6 separate regions of the Homo sapiens genome follow, and regions 2, 3, 4, 5 and 6 are each linked to region 1. The links are contacts of gene promoters, found by promoter capture Hi-C in blood cells and fetal thymus (Javierre and others, 2016). All regions are on one chromosome and are shown on one strand. Each heading gives the region's core, a stretch centred on a gene start or on the middle of the fragment in contact. The rest is flanking DNA. Distances are from core to core; before and after follow the strand shown.

The links. The method cuts DNA at HindIII sites, captures the fragments that hold promoters and counts their contacts. A CHiCAGO score of 5 or more calls a contact.
Region 2: a contact is called between a fragment that was not itself captured here and the fragment with the promoter of TM7SF3 in region 1, in 1 of 17 cell types (endothelial precursors). The highest score is 5.3, in endothelial precursors.
Region 3: a fragment that was not itself captured here is called in contact with the fragment with the promoter of TM7SF3 in region 1 in 1 of 17 cell types (M2 macrophages); the score reaches 6.6 in M2 macrophages.
Region 4: a contact is called between a fragment that was not itself captured here and the fragment with the promoter of TM7SF3 in region 1, in 16 of 17 cell types (M2 macrophages, monocytes, naive CD4 T cells and 13 more). The highest score is 13.8, in M2 macrophages.
Region 5: a fragment that was not itself captured here is called in contact with the fragment with the promoter of TM7SF3 in region 1 in 17 of 17 cell types (M2 macrophages, naive CD8 T cells, monocytes and 14 more); the score reaches 21.3 in M2 macrophages.
Region 6: a fragment that was not itself captured here is called in contact with the fragment with the promoter of TM7SF3 in region 1 in 16 of 17 cell types (M2 macrophages, monocytes, M1 macrophages and 13 more); the score reaches 12.6 in M2 macrophages.

Annotation. Positions count from the first base shown.
Region 1 is chr12:27,011,915-27,016,642 of GRCh38, forward strand. It overlaps TM7SF3 (transmembrane 7 superfamily member 3), which reads right to left and starts at 2,470. Exons shown (of 12, transcript NM_016551.3): 1 at 2,164-2,470. The coding sequence starts at 2,254. RefSeq lists a silencer at 2,163-2,662. The HindIII fragment of the contact is 5,016 bases long and covers 1,479-4,728 here.
Region 2 is chr12:27,398,797-27,403,524 of GRCh38, forward strand. BMAL2 (basic helix-loop-helix ARNT like 2) reads left to right here. Exons shown (of 17, transcript NM_020183.6): 10 at 1,738-1,978; 11 at 2,461-2,567; 12 at 2,728-2,878; 13 at 3,823-3,881; 14 at 4,637-4,728. The region is part of intron 1 of BMAL2-AS1 (BMAL2 antisense RNA 1); the gene reads right to left. Among named protein-coding and RNA genes, the nearest start is that of BMAL2-AS1, 45 kb to the right of the region's middle. The HindIII fragment of the contact is 2,763 bases long and covers 1,122-3,884 here.
Region 3 is chr12:27,372,007-27,376,734 of GRCh38, forward strand. It overlaps BMAL2 (basic helix-loop-helix ARNT like 2), which reads left to right. Exons shown (of 17, transcript NM_020183.6): 4 at 4,340-4,381. Among named protein-coding and RNA genes, the nearest start is that of BMAL2, 42 kb to the left of the region's middle. The HindIII fragment of the contact is 1,292 bases long and covers 1,891-3,182 here.
Region 4 is chr12:27,314,075-27,318,802 of GRCh38, forward strand. It overlaps STK38L (serine/threonine kinase 38 like), which reads left to right. Exons shown (of 14, transcript NM_015000.4): 7 at 430-584; 8 at 941-1,043; 9 at 1,215-1,276; 10 at 3,262-3,379; 11 at 3,822-3,945. Among named protein-coding and RNA genes, the nearest start is that of BMAL2, 16 kb to the right of the region's middle. The HindIII fragment of the contact is 3,122 bases long and covers 362-3,483 here.
Region 5 is chr12:27,295,645-27,300,372 of GRCh38, forward strand. It overlaps STK38L (serine/threonine kinase 38 like), which reads left to right. Exons shown (of 14, transcript NM_015000.4): 2 at 2,066-2,210. The coding sequence starts at 2,077. Among named protein-coding and RNA genes, the nearest start is that of BMAL2, 35 kb to the right of the region's middle. The HindIII fragment of the contact is 1,688 bases long and covers 1,325-3,012 here.
Region 6 is chr12:27,276,099-27,280,826 of GRCh38, forward strand. The region is part of intron 1 of STK38L (serine/threonine kinase 38 like); the gene reads left to right. It overlaps LOC124902905 (a long non-coding RNA gene), which reads right to left. Exons shown (of 3, transcript XR_007063254.1): 3 at 4,550-4,633. Among named protein-coding and RNA genes, the nearest start is that of STK38L, 34 kb to the left of the region's middle. RefSeq lists an enhancer at 2,007-2,056 and a silencer at 3,774-3,974. The HindIII fragment of the contact is 1,144 bases long and covers 2,611-3,754 here.

The DNA of each region.
Region 1 (4,728 bases), core at 1,220-3,719:
TCTAGGTATTAAATACTAACACCAAGTAGAAAGAAAAAGTTCTGGACGCCTGCTCTCCTGACTCAGGGGCTGGCCTCGATCAACTAAAAACTCTAATATCTCAAATTCTTCACCTGTTAAAATAGAGATAGCATCTCTTCTACCTCCATCATAAGGCTATTTTGAAGAATGAGGATTCACAGAAGGATTAAGTACAAAGCACCATGCCATGTAAGATATTCTTATTGGAAGACAGCTTTACGGAAGTGGAAGGACTATGAAATTTGCAGGGAGACTCACCTGGGTTCAAGTCCTATCTGTAACCCTAGCAGCTGTTCATTTGTTCCTCTGACAAGGGAGGAAGATCATTACATTGTAGGGTGGTGGGGATTAAATAACACTGCACGTGGAAAGCACCTGGCACACACTATACAGAGTGAATGTTAGTGCCCTATTATAAGCAAGGTTTTTCTGCAAAAAAAAAAGTTGCCCTTTTCAGCTTTGGCCTCAGTCCTATATACAAAGATCCTAGAATTCAGTTTGCACAAGGGCTTTTCAAAGATAAGTGCATAGCAACACAATCACATTATTCAGAAAATATTATGTTTCAGAACTGCAACTAGTCTATTAACCTCAAAACAAAACAGAATGTGCTTAGTTTCATGGAAAAGCACATGATGATCTGCCTGGCACAACTAGTGCCTTTTACATTTTATATTAACAAACCATGAGCTGTTGCCCAAACCCATTCACCAAGCACAAGACTTACAATCTAACATCCCATTCTGAGTTCTCACTGAGATGAACAAGAATTACCTGAAATCGGCCGGGCGCGGTGGCTCATGCCTGTAATCCCAGCACTCTGGGAGGCCAAGGCGGGCAGATCACGAGGTCAGGAGTTCGAGACCAGCCTGAACAACATGGTGAAACCCCGCCTGTACTAAAAATACAAAAACTAGCTGGGTGTGGTGGCGGGCGCCTGTAATCCCAGCTACTCTGGAGGCTGAGGCAGGAGAATTGCTTGAACCCGGGTGTCGGAGGTTGCAGTCAGCCAAGATCATGCCACTGCACTCCAGCCTAGGCGACAGAGCGAGACTCCGTCAAAAAAAAAAAAAAAAAAAGTCACCTGAAATCATCAAAAATGGTGTACTCATAGGGAGCCAAGCCCGGGCATGTTGCTTCTTGGCTCCCACAGGTGAATTTGAAGTGGCAATAGAACTTCGTTGATTCTTGTTTTTCTCATTTTAGTTTTACTCTCTATTAAATTGTTATTTTTTACAGTTCATTTATGGATGACAAGTTATTTCCTGTTGGTAGCTGCAATGATTGGGAATTTTGTGATCTCTGTAAACGAATTAATATCTCATAGAGATCTATTTCCTGTTGGATATGAGACAACAGAGAACACAGTTTTTGTCCATTTGTCTTTTTTAAGGTCAAATCGATTAGAAATTTCTTGCCCTCAAGTAAGGAGAACAACTCTGATACCTGGACTGGCAAGCTTTTGTGTTTCTGTGTTTATTTTTCATTTGTGGCTGAACTTGTAGAATTGAGGGTATACACATTCTATCTGTATGTCTATGTATCTGTAATTCAGAAAGTCCTTTATTTCTCATTGTGAGTATGGAATGTTTTCCTGTCTCCAGATGGTATTAATAAATTAGATGGTAAAGGCTCTTTAAAAATAAAGCCTCATTATGGGTTCATTTTCCCTCTCAAACTCTGTAGAACATAACCAGTTTGAAAAGCCTCTAGATTTGGGGGTGTAAAAATTCCATGCAGCTTGAGAGCCATCAGTCATTAAGCCGCTAGTTCCACCCCAAGTCTTGCTGTCCAGAAGCTCAGACAGTCCACTGGGCAGCAAAGAGGCGCTTTAGTAAGTTGAATTAAAGCCACAAACATGGCTGCTCCCTAAGGGAGATAATACTGTGTTAAAAAAAGAGAATTATTTATCTCTTCCCATTTCCTCCGCTAAATGAGGAGGTTAATAGTAAGACCTCCTTAGCCATGAGTGTTTCCGCTGCAGGAAACACCATTCGTGCCGGTTCTGGACTCACCACCCAGCGTGTACCAACGCCCCCAGCACCATCTCCCTGCTAGGCTGACAGACCCCTGGCGGATTTTGACCTCGCAAGAAATGCAAAAGCAACTTTGGGTTGCAGAAGCCAGGCGCCCCGACCTTACCCTCGCTGGAATTCCCGAAGACCTCGGCTGCACCAGCCACCCGGTGTTCGGATGCCAGCACCGCTACGACCAGCAGCTGCAGGAACCCCATTGCTGCCTGGGCCGGGCTGGGCCCACGCCAGGGCTGGGGAGAGGTGCGGGCGTGCGCGCCGGGGCCCCGCAGCCTCGCCCACGCTATCCCGGGGCGCCCGCATCGGGCGCCATCGCCCGCCAGGTGCAGACGCTTCGCACCTGCCAGCTCCGCAGCCGCCGGCGCGCGCCCCGCCGAACTCCTAGCCCCAGCGAGAGGTTTCCTCTTCCGGCACCTGACCCCCAACGCGCGTTCCCGCGCCTCCTCCCGGGCTCTCGCTGCGTCACAGCGGCGGGTCTCTGGGCGCGGGCGGCGCTGGGGCGTTTCCAGGCAGCGCGCGCCTCCTGCCGGCGCGCGGGGAACGCGCAGCCTGCGGTGCTCCCGGGAGCCCCCAGGAAGTCCTGGCTTGAGGCCCGGTCTTGCCCCACTTTTATCTCACCAAGTAGGCAAACCCACTGTGAAAGTACAAAATAACTTTCTGTTGCGGACTAACGTCGCCAGGCTCCTGTTTCCGTGTTTAACGGCCCTTTACAACAGCAAAAAAGAGGAATCAGTTGCTAAAAACACAATTGAAGGTTATTTCCCCCGGTAGCAATTGTCTTCGCTGCTGAGGCTTATGTTAGCATAAAAATGCCAGGAGAATGCTGTTTGTGTAGTGGTTACCGCACTAGTCATAAGCACTACATTTAAAAGTAGTTTCGTTTTCTCTAAGCGAAATATCCTCGAAGACACGGCCTTGGTCTGAACTTCGTCTCAAGTCTCATACCTGAGTGCTGTTTGAGGGACAGTAGTCCATGTGACAGATGGCTCATCGATGATGTGGAATTAGACGCATAGACTTAACGTTATTTGGGGAGGATTGTCTTGCTTTCCTTCCCTGGTTTTAATTTTTTTCACTTATATATTTTGATGAGCAACTTATAGCTTGGAAATTACATGTTCAGTTAGTCCACTACTAAGCTAACAATATATAGCTGTGACCATAATGTGAAGAAGTGTTAAAGACAAAATTATTCAATGATACTTGTTAAAGCACCGAACGAAGACTATTGAGGACTGTCTCAATTGGCATAGGGACCACTGCAACTGGGTCTTGCAGTGGGGAAGAGGGACTGGGCTCAACTCCGAATACAGCGTGGGCAAGAGGGAATTTATAGCCAACCAGCAGTATGGAGTTCAGTGGATGGAAAATTACTAAGAGGAAGCATCAGAGGTAAGGGGCATTTGGTGAAACTGACCTAACAGGACTTCTGAAGACATAACATCACCTGGGGGATGGTGCAGGGTGAGAAAACTGATTAGATATGGAGGAAAGGGGGTTCTTTGCTAAAACTGGATTTTTACAAAGAAGTGCACAGATGGACCTAGCAGAAGATTCAGAAGCCGTACTAGAGTTTGGCCAAGCAAATAATCTTTGTCATAGGCACAATTCTTTCTCTGCTTTCCCACTGCCTGGTCCAAATTTTCACACCTTTGGTAGCACTATCTATTTCTGTAGTGCTTATTCACTCTCCCACATGCCCCTATTCCTATAACCCTCAGTAGATGAAATCCAAGGAAGATGAAAGGGACAATTATGATAAGGGTAGCATCTGAATCAGTGGATGGATTATTCAATAAATTGTGTTCTTAACTGATTAGCTGCACTATGGGCAGAGAGAAGCAGAACTCTATCTCACACTAATTGTGAAAACAAAATCCCAAAGTAATAAAACCATAAAAGAGCTAGCAGAAGAGGGCGCTCTTTTTTTTTTTTAATAAATTGATCTCAAAATGGGAGGAGCTTTCTAAGAAGCAAAACAGCAAAGGAAACAACCATAAAGGAAAAGATTGGTAGACTTGGCTACGTAAATGCTTTTTACATAAATATTTAAATTTTATTAAAGTAAACACACAAACAATATGAAAAGGCAAGTTGACCAAAAAAAAAAAATTAGCAAAGGACATGAATGGGGAATTTCACCCCAAAAAAGAAATACAAATTACCAGTAAATACATGAAAAAAGTTCAATCTCACTAGTAAACAAATAAAAAAATCAAATTAACAAACTAAGATGTAAACATTTTAAAAGTATAAAACATCCAGTGTGGATAAAAGAGCTAAGAAGGAGGCATTCTTAGGTAGGGATACTGGGAATATACACTTTAATAAAGTAATCGGCATCAAAAATGTTTAAAAATCTTATTTTTGTAGATTTGGTATAATCCACTTTTAGATTTAAGTACATAATTAAATACACATATAAAAATTAGTATAAGCTGGGGGAAGTGGTATGCGCCTGTAGTCCCAGATACTCAGGGGGCTGAGGCAGGAGGATTACTTGAGCCCAGGAGTTCAAGAGGGCAGTGCTGTATGATTGCACCTGTGAATAGCCACTGCCCTCCAGCCTGGGCAACATAGTGAGACCCCATCTCTTAAAAAAAAATAGTGTACAGAACTATTCATAGAGTATTATTTAGAGTAGCAGAAACATCTAAAACAACCTAAATGCCCA
Region 2 (4,728 bases), core at 1,253-3,752, 390 kb after region 1:
CAGTAGAGTGGAATATTTTTAGTCAGTATCATTCATAAGTTTGCAAAAATGCTGAACCTGATGTATAAGCCCTTTTATTTTTAACTGCCATCTAGCTTTGTTAAATGAAAACTTTTATTCGTACTTACTCAATTTTAATTCCTTTGAGGCATCTGGGTTGTTAGGGGGAGGTAGAGCCTAGGATGACCCCCAGATTTCTCTTTGAACTGCCTGGGTTGATCGTGGCACCAGTAAACAGGGTAGGGAATAAGTGATAAAGACTGGGTTTGGGTTGGAAGAGGTAAGGAGTTTTGTAATTTAGGGCATCTGTGGCCTGGGAAGGGAGTGGTGTTTGTGAAATGTTGGATACAAGGTTTTATGCATGGCTTACAACCTGCCCTCTGTTCCCTGCTTTATTTTCCAGCCTTTCCCACTGCAGCATATGCTTCAGCCGCATCTGACCGCTCTCTCTCAGTTCTCACTGGTCATTCCCTCTGGCTGGAACACCTTTGTGCCCCTCCCCTTCTGTCACCCAGGCAACTCCTATTTGAACATCTTTGGTGACAGAGCACTCACTATCAGCAAATGGTGTGGCATTAGTGATTTAGAAAGTGGGCTCTGGAGCCAGCCTGAGTTTTAACCCCAGCTCCATCCTGTACCTGGTGTGACCTTGCCATTAACTCAGTTTCCTAGGACAATGGAGATACTAGAACATCCCATAGAGCTGTTAAGATTAAATGAGTTATACGTTTAAAGCACTTTAAACAGACTGTGACACATAAAGTATTCTCTAAATCTTTGCTATTATTGTTAACTACTATCTTATATGACAGTTCATATCATGTTCTATTTAAACAAAAATTTAAAGGATTTATTGTAATGGAACTTTTACCAAATAGTGCCAATTTGAAACAATGATTGTTCTAATCTTTTCTAAATCTTATCATAAAAACAGCTGTTTCAAATAATTTTTATCAGGCTTTCCCCCTACTTTTTAACCTTTAAATCACTTTTGTGGCATGCCATAATCTGTAGCCTACTCATTGTTTATGCCCGTATTGGATTTATTTTTTGCTTAAGCATGATATTTGAGGATATAGATTATTTCCAATTTTTTATTATTTTGGTGGACATGCTTGACAAGCTTCTTCCTATGAGTTAATTGCTTGGGATTTTCCTAAAAAGTGAAATTTATTTTATTTTTGTACTTTTCACTATAAATTTCTCCAAGTGTTCTTTAAAATGTTTCTATAATCTATTATAACCTTATGTATCTGTTAACCATTATAAGCACTAACATAAGAAATTTAAGAATGTATGCATAATTATTTAAATGTCTTTTTAAAGTTTTGAATATAAGTTACGATATACCAAAAAACTTAATAAGGTGAAAACAATATTGCAAGGGGGCATGAGGATTAATTTTTTCTAATAGATGTAAATTACTATAATTTTAAAAATTGACTTGGAAATATGTTAAGTCATAGACCTAGTTAATCCTAAAATAGAGCAACCTGTTCGTTTTTTCATGTAGTACATACAATTTAGTTCCTGAGAAAAATAATCTATTAATAATAAAGTCATGAAATAAACAAAATTGGTGATATCTTTTCAATGGAATACCATTCCCCTTTCATATTTTAGCATATTTAAAGAGCATTTTATAGCACAATTATAACTATTATAGATGTCAATATAAGAAATTTAATGACTTATTTATAATGATCCAAATGTCCTTTTTAAAAATCTTTGAATTAGAGCACAGAAAATTCTATACTATCCATTGCACTGGTTACTTGAGAAGCTGGCCTCCAAATATTGTTGGAATGGAAGAAGAAAGGAACAGTAAGAAAGACAACAGTAATTTTACCTGCCTTGTGGCCATTGGAAGATTACAGCCATATATTGTTCCACAGAACAGTGGAGAGATTAATGTGAAACCAACTGAATTTATAACCCGGTTTGCAGTGAATGGAAAATTTGTCTATGTAGATCAAAGGTAAACATTTACATGTTATAATGATTAGAATTCAATGGGATATTTGAAGCTATTAAAGGCGTGTCTTAGTAGCACTGCTAGTTTTTCTTTTTCTTTTTTCTGTTTCAGAACAGAAAATAAAGTTTAAATGAAATAAGAATATGGACATGTCAGTAAATTTGCTTAAGCCAACATGTAAACTTGGAAGAGTGTCTCTTAGCCAGTGGTGCAGAAACTGGGCATGATCTGTGGCCACGATTTTACTGGCAAAAGCTAGTAGGAGCACAGCCTGGATCGGGTGGAGGCTTCATGCCTGGGTGCCTGTTCTGTGTTGCAGCTCTAGTCTGGGTCTAGGGCAGCCGAGGGGAGCCCAGTGATATGCATGGGTCACTCATCCCCTACCCTGTGCACTTCTTTACGATCCTGACCATATGTGGGCCTACAGTCTTCTGGGAGGGAGTACACTCACCACTTCTGAAGTTTATTTTCAATTTTGAAACCAGGGCAACAGCGATTTTAGGATATCTGCCTCAGGAACTTTTGGGAACTTCTTGTTATGAATATTTTCATCAAGATGACCACAATAATTTGACTGACAAGCACAAAGCAGGTAGGTATGCATTGAGCAGAATACATTTTGGGGAATTTAAAATGACAGTTTTAACTCTTAATTTCCCATTCCTGTGAAATTTGAAGTTTGAATTAATCTTCACAACATTGATTTTTATAGTCATTGACTATTATGCTGATAATTATCTTTTCTCGTTAAGTTCTACAGAGTAAGGAGAAAATACTTACAGATTCCTACAAATTCAGAGCAAAAGATGGCTCTTTTGTAACTTTAAAAAGCCAATGGTTTAGTTTCACAAATCCTTGGACAAAAGAACTGGAATATATTGTATCTGTCAACACTTTAGTTTTGTAAGTAATTTTTTATGTTAAGACCTTTATATTGATTTCAAATGAGTCTCTTTGCTTTTCTCCTCTCATCTTGCTAAACCATTAAAACTGTGTGATCCTCTGGCCTTTTATTGTAACTTGAGATTTATCTTTTGAGTAATTCATTTACTGTTCATTGACATTAGTTCTCAGAATTAAGCTAAAAGTTTTCATTTCTGTAATACATTCCTTCTTACTTGATATAATATGTGAGGGTAAAGGCATTTATTCAAGCATTTTCTTCCTACCCTCCATGGCCATTCAGTAAACAATGCAGACGTGGATTTCTACTGTGCATTATTGTAAGAAATTGTTTTGTCCTCCCTGTCATTTTTACCTGCACATCTTATAAGCCTGGGGTGCCGCCATGTCTGTGTAGGCATGCTCAGCACGGGGGAGAACAGAAATCCAGCCCAGGTGTTGCTTTAGCAAGCTCTGGTCTGTAGCTGTGTCAGCCTGAAGGAAGAGTCAAGTTTTCCTGATTTTATAGGAGGCTAGGATGGCCCCGTTGTAAGTCTTACTTTTTTTCTGTAAGTTTCTCTTTGAAATTGCTGTAAGGTTTCCTTGAACCAGTTATTTCCTTGTCTACAATACTGAGAGAAAAATAATAAAAAAAAAAAAAGTTTAATACTTCCAGTATTTCCTGTCACCCATCCCAGTAGTCTTTGCCTACTTATTATTAGTACAGGAACTGAGAGTTTGTTATTGTGAGAACACATACTTTATAGAGGAATGGGGCATTTGGCAAACACCATGATACTTAGCACATTAAGACCTTGATTTCTGGTGGTGATACTAACAATATGTGTATATAAAACATAAATGGGCCACAAATTGACAAATTAAATATACAGATCTTAGTGTAGTTGCTATAACAGTTTCCTTCACCTTAGAAAGTAAATCACCTATGGTGTTTTTAATTCTAGGGGACATAGTGAGCCTGGAGAAGCATCATTTTTACCTTGTAGCTCTCAATCATCAGAAGGTAAGCTTACTTTTAGATGATGGAAGACTTATTACTAAGACATATTATTAAGACTATTACTATCTTTTTCTGTCCTGGAGAGGGGAAAATTTGAAGGTGAAATTAAAAGTAGTTCTGCAGGTTGGGTTATAGGAATCCCAACTTTGGTTTAGAAGAGACTAAATTCAACGGGAAATAGATATCCCATTTAAACTCCCAGAGGTATCACCATGTCCCCCTCAAAATTCCCACAGTGCTTTGCTCACTTTTCTGTTATAATCTTGCATTATACTGCAATTAGTTGTTCATTCAACTTGCTTTCCAGTAGACAGTTCTTTAAGGCAGGAATGATGTTTTATCCATTTTTCAGCCCTAGCAGCTAACATTGTTCCTTGTCAATTGTGACACTCTTGGACAAATTAACGAAAAGTATTGGGGGAGTTTTTGCTTATCTGTGTGAGTTTTTCACCACAGGAATATATTAATGTATTATTTGTAAAAATAAAAATCTTAGGAAACATTGAAGTAGTATTGCTGTGGAGATTAAAGTGGCAAGAGACTGGAGTCAAGGGTTACTAGTCACAATTGTGCCCTCAGTGACTCTACACATTTGATTCAAAGAGCATCATGAATTACATATGTAATGCAAGGATGAGTGTTTTCCAACTTTTTTGGATGCAGCTAGTCTGTTTCTTTTAAGGAGAGAACTGTGAAATTATTTGAATTGAAAGAAAGATAAAGTCCTCAACTGAATTTCTCCTTTTGCTGTTACTTAGAATCCTCTAGACAGTCCTGTATGAGTGTACCTGGAATGTCTACTGGAACAGTACTTGGTGCTGGTAGTATTGGAACAGATATTGCAAATGAA
Region 3 (4,728 bases), core at 1,287-3,786, 360 kb after region 1:
CTGCCTGAGCTTAGGAGTTTGCAACCAGCCTGGGCAACATGGTGAAACCCCATCTCTACTAAAAATACAAAAAAATTAGCCAGGCATGGCGGCATGCGCCTGTAGTCCCAGCTACTTGAGAGGCTGAGGCAGGAGAATTGCTTGAACCTAGGAAGTGGAGGTTGCAGTGAGCCAAGGTCGTGCCACTGCACTCCAGCCTGGGTGACAGAGAGAGACTCTATCTCAAAAAAAAAAAAAAAAAGGTGGAATTATATGATGTTTGTTCTTTTGTGTCTGACTTATTTCACTTAGCATAATGTCTTCAAGTTTCATCCATATTATAGTATGTGTCAGAATTTCATTCCTGTTTATGGCTGAATAATATTCCACTGTGTGTATACACCATATTTGATTTATCCAGTCCTCTGTTGATGGGTTATTTCCACTTTTTGGCTATTGTGAGTAATGCTACTATGAACATTGATGTACAAATACCCGTTTTAGTCCTTGCTTTCCATTCTTTCAGATACATGCCTAGGAGAGAGTTGCTGGGTTATATGAGAATTCTGTTTAGTTTTTGAGGAACTGCTATACTGTTTTCCACAGTGGCTGTATCATGTTACATTCCCATGAGTAGTGTACAAGAGTTCCATTTTCTTCATCCTCACTGATACTTATTATTATTTTTTTTTATTTTTTATTTTTTGAGACGGAGTCTCGCTGTGTCACCCAGGCTGGAGTGCAGTGGCGTGATCTCGGCTCACTGCAAGCTCTGCCTCCTGAGTTCACGCCATTCTCCTACCTCAGCCTCCCAAGTAGCTGGGACTACAGGCGCCCACCACCACACCTGGCTAATTTTTTGTATTATTAGTAGAGACGGGATTTGACCGTATTAGCCAGGATGGTCTCGATCTCCTGACCTCGTGATCTGCCCACCTCGGCCTCCCAAAGTGCTGGGATTACAGGCGTGAGCCACTGCGCCCAGCCAATACTTATTATTTTCAATTGCTTGATTATAGCCATCCTGGTAGGAGGGAGTGGTACAGTCTTACAATTTTCAAAGAATCACCCTGGAAACAGCATGGAGGATGAGCTGAAAGAAGAAGACCCAGCAGGCAGAGAGAACAACAGAGAATAGCTTTTGCCAAGGACGAGGTTTTCTGAGCATCGATCAAAGAGAGTGGCCCTGGACAGGAAGGGCAGGGAAAGGAAGGGACATATGACACACTTAGAAGATAGGATCAATAGGACTTCATGATTGTTCACTGGGGAGAGGATATAAAGTGTGCCCACGTTTTCTGACTTGGGCTCCTAGATGGAGGGTGGTATTTTCATTCACTTAGATTGAGGCAAAAATGATGAGTTCAGTTCTGGACACACTAAGAATGGGATATTTATAGAACCTTCAAACAGGAAGTTGGAAATGAGGATTTGGAGCTCAGGGTAGAGGCCTGGCCTGGAGTTAGAGACTCAGACATCATTAATGCACAAAAAGTACTTGAACTGATGATGTGGGTGCCATCACTGGGAGAAGCTGATGGAGTGGGGAGACTGGGGGCTGAGGATATACTCTGGGGGTGCTGACCTAAAGATAGTACAAGATGAGGGGAAGCCTGCCCAGAATATGTGAAGGCATGGCTCTGAAGTGGGAGCGGCACACAGAAATCAAAGGAAGCACGTTCCAAAAAGAGGAATGCCTGAAAAATGGCAGATCTGGGGAATATTTTGAGATTGCATCTGCGTCTAACTTTGTCTTTGGTTGATTTAGAAAGAATGCCTACATTTCATTCAAAATGCAGTGAAAATAGTTTTCAAGAAAACTGCATTGTATTTTGAAATTCTATTACTGTAATGTAAGGTTCTACACTAAGAAAATGTAGCCCAGTAATGTGACCATTATTAATATCAGAAAGCTTATTAAAACACATTTGTAAAAATTTGTAAAATATTAGGATTATAGACCAAATTTACTAACTATCTAGATTTGTGCTACAAACAAAGAAATGAATTGTTTGACTAAGAAGATCTTGCCTTTGTTCTATTCTGCCAGGGGCCATTAAATAGAAGGGTATTTGCATTTAGTAAGTACAGTACATTTGAATTTCACCAAGGAGGCAAATTCACTCAGTGAGTTCATTTGCTAAAATGCCAATGATCAAAGCAAAGACATGATTTTAAAAGGTCAAAGTTTACCTTTTGAAATTGAAGTAATGTATATATACATACATATATATAGTCAGTCCTTCATATCCATGGGCAACCAACCAAAAGTTGAAAATATCCAGAAAAAAAAAAGCAAGTCTGTATTGGACATATCCAAACTAATTTTTCTTGTTATTATTCTCTAAACAATACCATATAACAACAATTTACATAGCATTTACATTTATTAGGTATTGTAAGTAATCTAGAGATGATTTAAAGTATATGGGAGGATGTGCATAGGTTGTATGCAAATACTGTGAAGAGACTTGAACATCCACAGGTTTTGGTATCTGCAGAAGGCTCTGGAGCCAGTCCCCCATGGATGCTGAGGGACAATTATATATAATTCCAGACTATTAGGAAGAAAATTATTCATCTGTATAATTGTTTTCTGATTATTCCTTTAAGATGGCTAAAAAGAGAAAAGGGAAAAGAAGCTGACTTAATCTGACCCTCTCTTTTGCCTCAGAGAGGCTGTTTAATTTTATTTGTACCAACCACACAACAGGCTGACGGTGGTGAGAGAAATGGCCAGGTATGGTGGAAGGCGCACCAGCCTGCATTGAGTAGTCTTCACTTGGCCTCCACTGGTTATAGGACCTTGCACAGTCATTAACTTTACTCAACTCCTTCATCTGTAAAATGGGGGTAGTAATAACTTCACCACTGTGCTGTGAGAATCAAGTGTGGAAATATTTTTGATAAAGTACCATAAATATAAAAGCTCTTCTTGATTGAAACTGTGAAGAGGAAAAGCACCACTTGATTAAGCATTTGTCTTCGTGGTCTTTTTTATTTGGAATATTTATAAGCATCTATTTATAAATTTGATTAAATTTTCTATAAGTGTTATCTTTTTTTAAGTAGAAAAATACTAAAACCTCAAAAGAGTTCAACTGAATAAGACAGTTCTAAAGTAGGCCAGCCTTTCTTCAAAGCCTGAAAAATATTCATTGTTAAAAATCTGTAAAGAGGGAAATTTGTTAAGATGAATCAGAAGCTTTAAAATATTTATCCATAAATTGTACTTCTAGGAATTTATCCTAGAGTATAATTCAAGATGCACACACCACAATATTATTAGCCATATTATTTATGATATTGAAAATATTAGAATGTTGAAATATCCAACAATAACAAATGAATAAATTATAACTAATCAGTGGGCTACTATTTAATCATTTCAAATTATGTTATCCAAGAATATTTGAAACTACGCAGAAATATTCATGTTAGAGTGTTAAATGAATAAGACAAGACATGAAAATTATATACTATGATCTGAGTTTTATTTATTATACATGTAGAACACACAGAAATATCTACATGGTACCCATGCACCATGGCTAAGCTAAATAATCATTGTATGTATCTACATGTTTAGGAAATGCTGGAAGGAGACACATTAGAATATTAACTGTGATTACTTCCAGGTGGCATTATGGGTGCTTTTCCTGGAATTTTTCAAATCTCCCACAAAACGATACATTTGGAAATAAATCTTTTAAGATTACATATTTTTAAAAGCTATGCAGCCTGCATGATTTTTAAATGCTGACAGTCTTCTATCACTACCAACGTATTTCATTTTAGTAATCGTCTGCTGAGTACATTTCTGATGCTAGGAACTATACTAATGTGAAAATTAATATTATTGGTAAGAGTTTCCAGTTTTCAATATTGGTTACCATCCAGGTGGATTTTTAGGCAAAATAAATTCCTTTTGATTAAAGGTCTGGGATTCTTAATCCATTTTCAGGCTGTTTTAATACAGCTATCATAAAGTTTTTGGTTAAGCCATCAATGATGTTAATAACTTTAATGTTAATTCTATGAAAATCTTATTCTTGCTTAAGTTTGTCATGAGATCATATCTAATTATGTAAGTAGCACACTAATTATTGTTCACTGTCAGTTAACATAACTTTTGTTATCCTTATGGGAATGGTGTTGCCTGTCAGCGTTAGGAGGAGAATGGTTCATGTAGACAGTAAGAATCATTTCAGGTCATTAGGTGCTCAAGGGAGCATTTACAGCTAAGGATTTTATAGGAATTAGGATGATTGATTGGACTTAATCTCACATCTATTTCTCTATCAAGAACTACAGAAAAGGTACTTCATGTAGTTTGATATTTTATCCTGCTTTTTTGTAGAGTGGAAGATGGTGAACACCAAGTTAAAATGAAGGCCTTCAGGTACAATTGACTTGTTGAGATGGTACATGGTGAGTGGAAAGGTACACAAAGGCAAGCCTGTAGCCTAAGGCAAAGGTGACACCAAGGTAGAAGGGCTTGAAGATGAGGCTTTTCTCTCTTGTTATGCTCTGAGAAGCAATGTTATCAGGCACCTGATGTCTTGCTTTTCTGTCTACTTGGATAACATTTTGGCTTTCATGCCTTTAACTTTCTCTTAGAATAGCTTAAAAAAAAACCTATTATTTTCTTCAAGCACTAAAGAAAAATTGATCAATGACTTAAACAAATCAGTTACTTATGAGGGGCATCTGACTGTTAGAAACCCATCCTCGGCCTGGCGCAGTGGC
Region 4 (4,728 bases), core at 673-3,172, 300 kb after region 1:
AGAAATATACTGGGTAGATCATAAAATGCAAACTCAGGAAAGCTAGCTGGGCATGGTGGCTCATGCCTGTAATCCCAGTACTTTGGGAGGCCAAGGCAGGCAGATAGCTTGAAACCAGGAGTTTGAGACCAGCCTGGCCAACATGGCAAAACCCCATCTCTACTAAAAATACAAAAATTAGCTGGGTGTGGTGGTGCACACCTGTAATCTCAGCTACTTGGGTGGCTGAGGCATGAAAACTGTTTGAACCCAGGAGGCGGAGGTTGCAGTGAGCCATGATCACACCACTGCACTCCAACCCAGGCAACAGAGTGAGACTCTGTCTCCAAAAAAAAAAAAAAAAAAGTAAAAAAAGCAGGAAAGCTTTTACAAGGTATTCCACCTTTGAGGCATTTTCAATAATAATATATTTGACTATCCTTTATTTAGGTGACATGATGACATTGCTAATGAAGAAAGACACCTTGACAGAAGAGGAAACACAGTTCTACATTTCAGAGACTGTTCTGGCAATAGATGCGATCCACCAGTTGGGTTTCATCCATCGGGATATTAAGCCAGACAACCTTTTATTGGATGCCAAGGCATGTGAATAAACTGGTGAATTACTAGGCTGTTGATTATTTTTTAGAGCAGTAGGGCTGATTTTGTGAATGGAAATCAGCAACTGCAATTTAGAATATTGCTAAACAACATTATATGATAAGGTACTAGGAGAGGACTTGGGAATTAAATGACAACAGGGAATATGGCTCTCTTTTTATCTCCCTCCATTTTCTACTTTTAAAAATCATCATCAGATACTTAAAATTTTACATTTTACGTGTATAAATCCCAAGCTAAGAATTTTTATTATAATTGCCATTTAATAGAGGAGTTTATAACAAGGCTTTTTGTTTTCAAAGTTAATATGATCTAATTTTACTGGATTTTTTTTTAGGGTCATGTAAAATTATCTGATTTTGGTTTATGTACGGGATTAAAGAAAGCTCACAGGACTGAATTTTATAGAAATCTCACACACAACCCACCAAGTGACTTCTGTAAGTTTGGTTGTTGTTTTTCTTCTTTCCCCTGGTTAAGATACTGTAGAGAACAGAAGGTTCTTTCCCTTTCCCCACTCCTTAATCCACTGTGTTTTAGATGTATATGTATTTTCTTTTTGTGGAGAGCATTTTTCCCTCGTGATTACAATTCCATATTGTTGAAATTAGCATTTCAGAACATGAACTCAAAGAGGAAAGCAGAAACTTGGAAGAAGAACAGGAGACAACTGGTGAGTCAACCAGTTTTTAAGAGAATTTTATGCCTTGGTTCTAAAATCTTACCTGGTTTTAACTTGATTATTTTTATCTTTATAATAATTAGTATTTACTTCATAACAATGGTAGCGCTTGCTCTGGGATCACACAGTTTTCTTAGTTTCTCTGTTAAGTTTCCTTGCCTGTAAAGCAAAGTGTTGGTTTTTACTTTGTAACTTTAGAGTAGTTTACTGAGCATACCTACAAGTAAGCTGTTTACTAGTAATTAGCACTTTAAATAAAACTCACTGAGGTGAATGCAATTGTAATGAATGCCTTGTGATTTCCATTTTTCCATTTTTCATAACTGTGTTACAAATCCTGATACAACAAATATCAATCAGCAAGTAAGGTGGTTGTGAGTTTCTAAAAACTTCTTTATAGACAAAGTAAACAGGAAGTTTGGGATGTAAACAGTGTTACAATAAAACAGATAAAATTTGAAAAAGCTGGCTTTGCCACAGATAAATTTAATTACTCCTTTAATATAGAATTACATTATTTTTAACCCCATACTATTTCCTTTCTATAACTGAGCAAATAGAAGAATTGCTTCCCCTTTCTCCTCTTTCCCTTTGTCCTGTTAACATGGTCCATCAACAGTCTACAGGTTAAGAATGTGCCTTAGGATTTTCTTTTTCTCATTTCTTATAAAATGCCTGGCACATACGGACACTCTATAAATACTTGTTCAACCAAATGATGAAAGGAAAACTAATTCAGCATTCCCTCAGGAAAGTAAACAGACTGAAAAATAATAGGCTAATACCCTCTAAAACCAAATAAAATGACCTTTGCATTATTGAGCTTATTATCTCATTAACCTAAGTAACTGCAAAAACTTGTAAAACATTTCAGTATTTTTAAATGTATTGAGTTACACATTAAGGAGAAAAACTTTGTTCTACTTTTAAAATGTGTCCATTTTAGATCAGGTTTTGCAATTGAGAATAATTGCAATATTCCCTATTTTTAAAGGGGAAAAACTGAATACTGCTCAAAATTATGGTGGGGGAATTCTGTACCCCCCTATTTACAAAATATTCATGGGTGATTACTCAGGTGTGTGTTTTATTATTCTCATGGCCAGTAGTTGCCAAGCCTTAGATCGAGTGTTTCCCAAGGGAGAAGTAGAGAGGACTCAGTGTTTGGGGCAGGAAATTTCTTTAGCACCTGGATCCCCTGCCCTGTAAATGCCAGTTATGTCACTGAGATGACAAAATCTGTGGTCCTACATTTTGCCATGGCCCCAAGAGTACTACCCCTGGTTGAGAATTACTGCCTTGTAGAAATCATTTTTGTAAGATTTTATATGAATTAAGAATTAAAAACTGCATAGCTTCCTAAAGGATAAGCAGTACCCTGGAATTACATTTATAATGAAAATACCTCATGCTTATTTTTGTAGTTTGTAGTTTACAAAACACATGCCGTTTATTGTTTCATCTTCATATCAACTCTATTAGGGCAGGTATTATTATTCTAGTTTTATGTAAGCAGAAGCTGAGCCTCAGAGAAATTGAATAATTTGCCCAAGAACACATTAGTAGTGAGTGGGGAAGCCAGGTCTTCTAGGTTCAACTTTTTCATTCTTTTTGAAATAGACTGAAGGCTATATATATAAATAACTTAACTGAGCTTCTTGTGGGGGCAGAAATGATATATTCTTATAAAATGCCTGGCACATATGGACACTCTATAAATATTTGTTCAACTAAGTGATGAAAGGAAAACTAATTCAGCATTCCCTCAGGAAAGTAAATAGACTGAAAAATAGTAGTCTATAACATATTATCTGACTCACTACCTACCACTAAGCCTTGCACATGATAAACATGCAAAATAAATACAAGTGAAAATTTAACTCCTCTATATATTGCTTTTTCCAGTAGTAAGCCATCCTCAGATAGATATTTTTTAAATGTTAAGAATGCTGGTTTGACGAGTTGCTCCTTTGTAGGCATATTCCACAGTTGGGACACCAGATTACATTGCTCCAGAAGTATTCATGCAGACTGGTTACAACAAATTGTGTGACTGGTGGTCTTTGGGAGTGATTATGTATGAAATGCTAATAGGTATGTTTTATCATTCATTTATGTACAAAATATATACATTTCCTTGAGTGCCATTGTTTGAACATATTACAGATATCATTGACTAAAATATTTGAAGTCTTTTAAGCTTAATTCTGATGTTCCCCCAATGTTAAATACATACTGATCAATACCAGTGAGCTCCCCACGGATCCTGTTTCAGGAAGGTGGGTATTTAACCCAAACTCCCACGTATAAAAGTGGTTATCTACATAGCTTTTCAGGTAAAAGGGGAGGCAGTGCTTTCAATCCTTTATTTTATTGACTTTATTAGCAACGTGATTGTAAATTGATGAATGGTGGCATTTTTGACTGTTAAATAGAGCACTCAGGGTTGTTTGGTTTCTTGTCGCACATGTTTGGTGGGTATAAACTTCACTGCTCACAAAGCTGATGAAACATTTTTGATTTATTTGATACATAGGATATCCACCTTTCTGCTCTGAAACACCTCAAGAAACGTACAGAAAAGTGATGAACTGGAAAGAAACTCTGGTATTTCCTCCAGAGGTACCTATATCTGAGAAAGCCAAGGACTTAATTCTCAGGTTAGTGGTTAAATTCCTAGAGGAGTTCATAGTGTCTTAAAACTTCCTAAGAACCTAAAAGACTCATTTCACTTTTGTGGGGGAAGAGGGGATACCACTGATGTATACAGTCAAAGAGATCAATAAAGGTGTTTTTAAAAATGTAAACTCTTAAAAGGAAGTATGCAGAAAAAAACGTAGGAATTAAAAAGAGGGAGGAAGTCTTGTATTGCTTCTGTTACTGATATATATAAAAGCAAAAGGTCACTTCTGTTAGAATGCAATGACCTGATTCCATTAAAGAGAAAAAGGAAAATGTTAATAGCAGATTCCTGTCATGAAAAGTATATATGTAAAATCTTCTAAGCAAAAAATTCCATGTGTTCCTCAACTAATATGAAGTGTTTTGGTACTGCTGTGAATGGCTGGAAGGAATATAAATTGGGACAACTTGTGGGAATAGCCAGTTGGCAGCATATTATTTTTTTAAAATCCCTAAACTATGTATGACCTTTGACCCAGAAGTTCTACTTCTAGGGATTTCGCTTATGCAGATAATCAGATACGTATAAAGATTTAGGTACACTATGATTTTCATGGTATTTAATAGTGAAAATTGAAAACTATTTAAATGTTCAACAGTAGTGGACTGGCTCAATAGTAGACTGTCTATAATACCTCTATATGTAAATTTTAGAAAACAAATTTATTGGCTGGGCACAGCAGCTCATGCCTGGAATCCCAACACTCTGGGAGGCCGAGTTGGGCAGATCACAAGGTCAGGAAATCAAAACCATCCTGGCT
Region 5 (4,728 bases), core at 919-3,418, 280 kb after region 1:
GAGTTCTTACATGGAGATGTTCCTGGTTTGGTGGAGTAACTGTTAGGGCCGAATTTTTCTTAGGAGTGATAAGCCACCAGTACCTGACTACAAATGTTAGAGAACATGCACCAAAAAAATGAGAAATGCTTTGCCTCTTCTGCAGAGCATGTTAGAGAAGTCACCACAGCAGTAAGACTTCAGCTAAACTGGGCCATAAAGGATCAGCAGATTCCTGCAGAGACATATCCTGCAGTGGATATAACTGCTTCAGGGATAGGTCATGGAAGAGCTTGGAGGCATGAAAGAGCTAGGTATGTTGGGAAAAGAATGAGTGGTGAGGAAGAGCATCAGATAAGGATAGAAAATATAAAAAGCAACAGATAAGGATAGCAAGTTGGAATCCTGACTCCACATCACACTAGCTATGTGACTTGCCCCAAACTTCAGTTCCCTACTTTGCAGGGCTGTCGTGAGGATGAAATGCAATCATGCATGGCAAGTGCCTCTATCTTAAATCCTCAGGAGAAAAAAAGGGGGAAATCAGTGAATAAAATATCATAAAGTTCCTGATATATAACCATACTCAGTGTATGTGAGTTGTTCTTATTGATCATATGTAGCTAATTTGACTTGCAGTAGGCAATGAGGAACCATGACTGATTCTAAACAAGTGACACGATCAGCTTCTCATTTAAAGTAGTCAGCAGAGGAACAAATTTATGCCAAAATAATAGATGCAGTTTTAGACATAGTGATTCTGAGGCTCAAGCAGTACATTGAGGTATAAACCCCTAATAGGACAACAGTAGAACTGGGAGTTTGCCATAGATAATTGTTTGCTTTCAACCTACACTTGACTTGCTTGACATCTTTTGGTTCATTCCATCAACCCTGGAATCTAGTCCACTTCAGGTCCACATCCAGGGCTCTGTATCTTCTTTACTTAAAGCAAGATGGATGTTGTGGCATAGGTGGCAGGTTTGGGGAACACTTTTCAACTAAGAATGCTTTGGATGGTCACTCTTGGCAAGCTGGATCTTCTTTGGACTGGTCTGTTACGATCTTCATCTAGATAAGCAAAGCCTCTTTAATGTATGAACTCTTCTAGTCTTTTTATCCAGATGTGGCTGTAGTAGGCAAGTCTCTTAGGGTCAGTGGCCACCTGCCGCAGCCATCGGAGTTCAGTCTTCCCCCCGTCAAGTGGCCATTTTGCCACACTCCTTATCTAATAGTCCAGATTATTTTCTTTGAAACGGTACTTTGTTTGCGTGGCCCAGTGATCTCTAAAAGTTGGCACTGGAATGCCTTTAAGCAGACATACATTGTCCACTTAAGGCCACAAAGCTTCCCTGTTGTTACCTGGCTTCATTCATACATTTCTGTTTCCTTCTTGGTTCCTATAGGCATCTGAATTTCATTTGAAAATGAAATGGGCTGCACAGTCTGGAGAAGTGTACTATACCTTGTTATAGCACGTTTTGGAATGACCCAGAATTCAGAATGAAATGGGCAGCTATGAGCCCCATCCAAAGGTGCCTGTTTCTAAAAGTAGTTTCCCCCTACAATATACGTGAACGTTGCTTTAGGCTGGTGTTTATATGCATATTTGATACAACACTTCATGTTTCATAGAATTCATAAGGCAGAAGCTACTTCTTACTATTAAACTAAACTGCATTAACTCTTAGGAGACTGACATTTATCAGGGACATAGCTATTAGCACTATCTTATAGATTTTATTTAGTAATGAAACAACAAAATAGCTGGAACTTTTCTTGTTTTGAATGCTTGTTGAATGTGACCTTTGTATATAAATGTGTCTATATTATATATGGATGCCACTGGTTCTTCTTTGCTGTCATTAACTCCTGGTTTTGCCACCACAATATGAATTTCTCTTGCTTTGGAAATAGTGCTTTTCTTTCTTCCCTAGCTTTGTATTATTTATAATGTGAAATACTTGGATGTGTTAACTGTTAGGGTCGAATTTTTCTTAGTTGAAATTGAACATTTTCAGAGTTTATTATAAAAGATAGGGGTTTTTTTTCCCACTGAATAATTTGTTTTTCTATGTTGTTTCAGTTTCCGTTACTATGGCAATGACGGCAGGGACTACAACAACCTTTCCTATGAGCAACCATACCCGGGAAAGAGTGACTGTAGCCAAGCTCACATTGGAGAATTTTTATAGCAACCTAATTTTACAGCATGAAGAGAGAGAAACCAGGTATAGTAAGGGCTAATCAAAACTTTTTTTAGTTAAATAAGCTGTTGTGCTGTGAGTGGAATAGAAACTTGTTTACCATGAATGATATGAATATTATGGATCCCTGCATGCTGTTTTTGAGTTTCCTGTACTGACAGTGCACATAGACATGTGTTTTATTTTCACAGAGTAGTTTCCTGAGGTGCCCCAAGTCTTGTGCATCTATATACCCGTATGACATGCCAATTAACGTTTTAAACAAACCTTTTCCAAACATGAAATTATGATATGTCTTTACATTTTCTTTTAAAGGGATGCCTGGCTTGGTGTGGTGTGGCTCATGCCTATAATCCCAGCACTTTGGGAAGCCGAGGTGGGCAGATCACCTGAGGTCAGGAGTTCAAGACCAGCCTGGCCAACATGGTGAAACCCCATCTCTACTGAAAATACAAAAAATTAGCCGGGTGTGGTGGCGGGTGCCTGTAATCCCAGCTACTCAGGAGGCTGAGGCAGGAGAATTGCTTGAAGGCAGCAGTGAGCCAAGGCTGCAGTGAGCCAAGATCACACCACTGCACTCCAGCCTGGGCAACAGAGTGAGACTTTGTCTCAAAAAAAAAGATGCTTTATGAATGACTGACTTTAATCCAAAAGCATTTACAGTGCATATCAGGGGGAATAGAAGAATAAAAAAAAGAATGACATGTTATTTTGACTTTAGAAAACTTATACTAAAGGAGATAACACACATAAATATATAAATGAAAGAGTGAAGAATATTAAGTACAAGGAAGGGAGAATGTGCTTTTGTCTAGGCAACTGGGAAAGCTTTGTAAATAGTGGTGGCATTTAAACAGGGCTCTAAAGGAGAAGAACTATTTATACATGCATAAAAGGAAGGAGACAGAGGCAAAAGAGCAGGAGGGAAGGATATTAGAGACAGAAGAAATCACCAGGTCAGGCAGTGTCCAATTTCGCTCAAGCACAGGATGTGCTAGATTCCAACATCCTGGGAGCCTTGGATTCTTTGTTAATGTAGCTCTTTTCATGGTAGTGGAGAGCCTTGGATGTTTTTGAGCAGAAGAATCAAATGAAAACAAGTGTTTCTCTAGAAAGGAACTTTAGTTGTGATACAGAGAATGGTTTGGGGTCAGGGTGGGGAATTAGAAACAGGAAAGTCTAGTGATGTAGTCCAGGTAAATGGAAAGGAGGCTTGAATTAGAATTGTGACAACAACAACAGAGAACTGACAAGTAAGAAAGATTGACAAAATGTGGCTACTAGCAAAATATGAAATGTGAGGGAAATAAGTCAATGTTGCCTCTGAAATTTCATGCCTGGGCAAACTGAGAGTGGTACAGTTTAAATGAAATAGAGAGGAAAAGTCTCATTTAATTTTGGACGGATTTAACTGCAGATTAGATACAGGTATGGTGAGAATTAGTGAACTGGAAAATAATTATTCAGAAATCAACTTAAAATAGGAATATGTGAAAGAGAGTTGAGAAACATGGAGAATCATGAGAAGACTTGACATATCTCTAAAAGTTCTGAAAGGGAGGAAAGGAATGAAAATAGAGCAGAGGCAAACAAACAAAAAAAGAGTTAGCATCAGCAGAAATTCCAAAAAGTTCCATTTAGGCAGAAGGAAAGTGACCACAAATAGAAGATTTAAATGGTAAGTAGGTGGATAAATCTCAACAAAAATTATATAAAGCAACAGAAATAATAGCGATAATATCTTACACATTAAAAAATAGAACGATAATATTTTCCAACAGCAGAATATAATTCAGGAAAGAAGTAATTAGAATTAAGGTGTTCTTAATGATCTTAGTAGAAAGGGCATAGAGATTAGCTTCAGAGTTTGACAAATTATGTTGTAAGTTCTAGAGTAACCATAAAATGATAAAAATAGAGTTTGTAATTTCCAGACTAGTAGAAGGAAAAAATTGGAATGAGAAAAAAAAAGTCAGTTCAAAAAGAATGCAAGAGAGAAAGAAAAACTGAAATACCAAAAATGGTAAAAATGAAATACCAAAATAGCACAAAATAAGTTAGAAATAAAAATCTAAATATATCAATAATTAAATGAATTACAAGGGTAATTAAAGTCTCTGGAAGTGATCAGACCATCCTGGGAGAGTGAATAAAGTAGAAGAGAACCAAGGAAGAAAAAGCAGGCACTTAAAAAAATTCATCAGAATTTCGAAGGTTCATTGTCTTTACTTGCTGCAGTGTTAAAGTAATTCAGTTTGCTTTCTTTTTCCAAATAAAGGAAAGTAACAATAAAATTATCTGTGTTATTGAAAAAAAAAGTAGTCTCAGCTTGGTGCCACTGTATGTCAAGTCGAACAATCTGCTCATATTTTCTAAAAGCTTATACTTTTAAGAAAATGTGATGTATTTTTAAGGCTTAACTAATTGGATAAATGCATAAGCCCAATAAATTTCTAATCAGAGCAAAGCATAAGAGCATTTTAGGTGGAAAACTATTTTTAAAAAAGGTACAACAGAAATCATGGATCTTCCTGTTTAGATA
Region 6 (4,728 bases), core at 1,933-4,432, 260 kb after region 1:
ATTATGGAAAAATTTAAGTATACACAAAAGTAAATGAAAGAGTAAACTGTACCTCCCTGTGTGCACATCACCAACTTAAACAGTTCTCAAACCATGACCAATCTTGATTCATCTATACCCATACCTACTCCCCTTCGCATTATTTTGCAGTAAATCCTTGATGTTGTATGATTTAATCTGGAAATATTTTAGTATGTATAGGATAGGTTTTTAAACTTCTAAATATGAGTTTCTCTGGTATTTTGGGAAGTCATGATAATTGAAACAAAATAACGAAGCCCATTGAAGACACAACTGCAGAAATCTGGCAGCCTGTCCCTGTGCTTTCTCCTTCTCTATGAAGCTGTTCCCAGGACCACGACTTCCACCGAGCCCATCTCCTAGAAATCCCTTTGTTCACATGCCCTGGAGAGAGTTGTGCTTTGTTATTTAAATTGTGCAAGGTGGAAGTGCAAGGAAGAAAAGCAATGGTGATTATATGAATGAGAGTAGATACTAGTTAGTAAAAAGCAAGATACTGTATTTATGTATAAGGTTAAATAGTTTTAAAAAATTATCCATAAGAAACCTTTAAAATTCCTTGGAATCTTTGTCATTTCTATTTTATCAAAATTACAGTATAAACTAGTAACTGAAGTTTATATTATGAATTATTGCAAACATACACAAAGTTATGGAGAAAAATACAAGGAACATTCATGTGTCTACTGCATATCTTTACCAAGTCTCTCCCTGTTACCTCAGATTTTCTTTAAGTGACAGAACATTGCAGGTAGAGTGAAGATGCCTTGGTAATCCTTCCCTTTCCTCTCTCCCAGAAATGACCATTATCCTGGATTTCGATTTATTGTTTTAAAGCATGTATAACCTTACATTGAATAGTGTCTTGCCTTTTATAAAGCATTTTACCTCTTTCGTTTGATCTTCACAACTCTTGAAGTATTTACTTCACTTCTAAATATGTATAACCCACCAAATTATCCCAATTTCACTTAATACAAAGCTATAAAGTATGAAGTGAATTAGTGTTTCATGATTTACAGTGTATCATCTCATTAGAAATAGAGTCCTGAGGCATGTGTGTGAAAACTTCACACCCCGCTTTGTTCCTCGATTTAATTTAAAGTACGAGTAATTACTCGTACTTTTAAAAGTATAAAGTATAAAGCACTTTGGGAAGCTGAGGTGGTAGCATCTCTTGAGCCTAGGGCTTTGAGACCAGCCTGGGTAATAGAGCAAGACCTCCATCTCAAAAAACACACACACACACAGCAGTAGGAGAACTGGAAGGAACCACACACACACACACACACACACACACACAGCAGTAGGAGGACTCGAAGGAACCTCAAAGGGTTAAATAGTCTTTAACTCCCTGATTTTAGTGAAACCGCCTTAAAACCAACTCAAAGGTAAGTTTTCTGTTCATTTCAAAGGACATAATTGAGGAAGGAAGAGCTGTCTACCCTGAGTAATGTTTTCTGGAATGACAAATGAGTAAAGAAATCATGGAGATATCTTATCTCATAATTCTTTAAAAATTAAATAACCATGGAGTTTGCATATAATTTTAAAAATTTAAAGCAAATTCCCACTCCAGTTCCTCCTGACCAATTTTTCCAGCTATTTGAGCAGTATTTTTTGCTCCTTGGAAGGGGATATAGTGCTTATCCTGTTTATTCAAGTAAAATTTAAAAAAAAGATAAAACTTTCTCCCCTTAAAAAAAAAAGTCTAGAGCTGGTAAAAATTTCTGACTCAGTAATTTTGGAAAGAATTGCCTCTTTCCACAAATAGATGAGCTTACATACTAGGTCTTCCAAGTGGACTAGTAAATTTCCGTGATGTCAGGAAACTGGGTGGAGTTTTTATGGATGCAAGTCCAGTGGAGGAGGGACTTTTCAGGTCATGTATAAGGAGAGTAGGATCAGATTCTGGTTTTGAATAACCTATAAGCCACAAAGCATGGGGATTTCCCATTGGGTTAATCTAGTGCTGGCCACAGTTTAGGCATATGATCTAGAGTAGCTGCTGCAATTAAGAGATGCTTGCTTATGGGATCTTTGCCCTTTTATTGGAAGGCTGTAAGTGTAGCCCAGCCTTGATTTATAAACCAACTTGACATAATCACTATTTCTTTTCACACAGACTTCTGAATAGCTGTCACTAAATTTTGATTACCACCAGGCATTTAGTTAAGCTAGAGCTGAACTATTTGATCTGTTAGTTTTTATTGGGCACTGCAGCCCACACTGATCTTCCCCTGTTCTAAAGCCCTGCTTGTATCAGAAAGGTCCACCCAGGCTAATTGTTTATATGCTAATTGTTTATATGGGTTAGTCTTAACTCTTTTTTCGACAATTTTATAGGATCTTAGCATGCTCATATCATGTCTCCTACTATTTGGGTCTCTTCCTACTGTCATATTGCTTGGTACATTGATAGGTGCTAGTACCTAAAGCCTTACCTAAAGCCGATGAAACTGTTAGCTTAGTTGGCTTCTTCCAGGTTTGTCTTTATTTGGTCACCCTGAAAGCCTAAGTGTCTTGCAAATACTATCTACTAGGTTTGTTGAATATCTCATTTTGTTTTCTATAATCAATAACAATGTAAGCTTGGATGCAATTTTTTAAAAGTACTTTAAAAACCTTAACTCTCAGTTTGGATACTTGTCCCCTAGCTGACAGAAATACCTTGGCAAAGTAGCTAAAGTCAGCCCTGAAGCTGAAATCAGCTGAGGCTGGATAGTTTAAATCATGCTTTTCCTCTTCTCAAAAGATGATAGGGACCAAATCAAAATCTCAACAGTAATTTAAATTGAACTTTCCAAGTAGATTTCTAGAATTCATATGAAAAAGTATAATAATTTGGAGGATAAAAAAGGAAAAAGAGTAGGGGCCTGCCCAAATAGATGTCAAAATACAGACAGTCCCTGACTTATGAATTTTCAACTTTAGGTTGGGTTTATTGGGATATAAGACCATCGAGGAGGTCATTATGATTTCTACTGAATGTGCCTCATTTTCGGACCATCATAAAGTGGAAAAATTGTAAGTTGGGGAATGTCTGCTCTGCTGCCACTATTAAATGCACTTTCGACTTAGTGATGTTTTCAAATTAGGATTGGTTTATTGGGATGTAGCCCCATTGAAAGTCAAGGAGCATCTTTTTATTATAGAGCTGTGAAAATAAAATAGTTGGTTTAGCTGTGATAATAAATGTTTAAATAGTTTAAAGGAACAGAGTCTCAAAATGGACTGTTTCTGGTGCAAAAGCTCTATGCTTATATTCATGCTTCTAAGTCTTAGTACACATTTTTTCCCTTAGTTTTAAAAAAATGTTTGCAGGCTGGGCTTGGTGGCTCACGCCTGTAATCCCACCACTTTGGGAGGCCGAGGCGGGTGGATCACCTGAGGTCAGGCGTTCAAGACCACCCTGGCCAACATGGTGAAACCCTGTCTGTACGAAAAAATACAAAAATTAGCCGGGCGTGGTGGTGGGCACCTGTAATCCCAACTACTCAGGAGGCTGAGGCAGGGAGAATTACTTGAACCCAGGAGGCAGAAGTTTCAGCGAGCTAAAAAAAAAAAAATTTTTTTTTTTTTTTTTGCTACATTCTTAAGTGTGACTCTCTTTAGCTTTGTGAAACCTTGAGGTGGTTGTTTTTCCACACGGTTTATAATGAAAGAGATGAGAAAAATACAATTTTTTATAAAGAGCTTGATGCTTTCTAGAACAACATACTCTAAAAAGGGAAGCTTACACATTTAAAAAATAAAAGTCTGATGAAAGACCATATAGCTGAGGGTTCTGAGCTTAGGGAGACAGGTTCCAATTACTGGCTGTAGGTCTTTGGGATGATGACTTAACTAAGCCTACTTCCTTATTTGTAAATGTGGGAAGCGCCTACTTTATAGAACTGTAAAGATCAAAGAACAGCATGCGTGCCAAACCTTTAGTACTGTAGCTAACACAGAAGTGTTTGATAAAAGTTACCCATGGTTATTATTTTTACTAAAAAGACCTTTAAAAGTACTATGAAGGGTTTCTGTTTCTAAATTCTAAGATATATAGTAGTCATGAACATTTCAGAAAGGCAATGTTATTTTCAAATCAGTTTCACAGTTTTCTTGAGGCGGATAAGCAGTTCTTCCCTTAGCAAAATAAGAACTTTTGATTATGCAATGAAAGAGAATCAAAGTCAGTACTGATTCCAGCTACCTTTTCTTTATTTTCTGTGAGAAATTGAGCAAGTTACTTGCCACAGTGATGTTTTTCATTTTTATAGAGAATAAAAAATAAATGAATTAGGTTTGAATTTCAGTGGGAAATAATTAGGTTAGATGTAAGAACGCTCTGATTGTAAGGCTGCCAAGCAGATGAGAGGGACTCCTTTGTCACCATTAGGAGACTGTGCCAGAGGAGCTTTTTCTTTTGGGCCTCTTGAGGCTACTTCAGGCGTCCTGGGAACCCATCTAGATGCACCTTAAACCTGGACTTCAACCCTGACTCCTGTGATGGCATCTTCGCCAGGATGACATGGTAAGGTGGTGATAAGGACGGAGATAAGACTGGCTGCCATTCAACGTTGGTTAGTCTTCCTGTTCATGTAGAAAGCATTCTGATACTTTTTTCCTATTTAGATAAGTAAATGAAGACAGCATAAGATAGACAACACATATTTTAAATAGTCTGAAATAATTGCATAGATTTCCAACAGCTTATAAAAC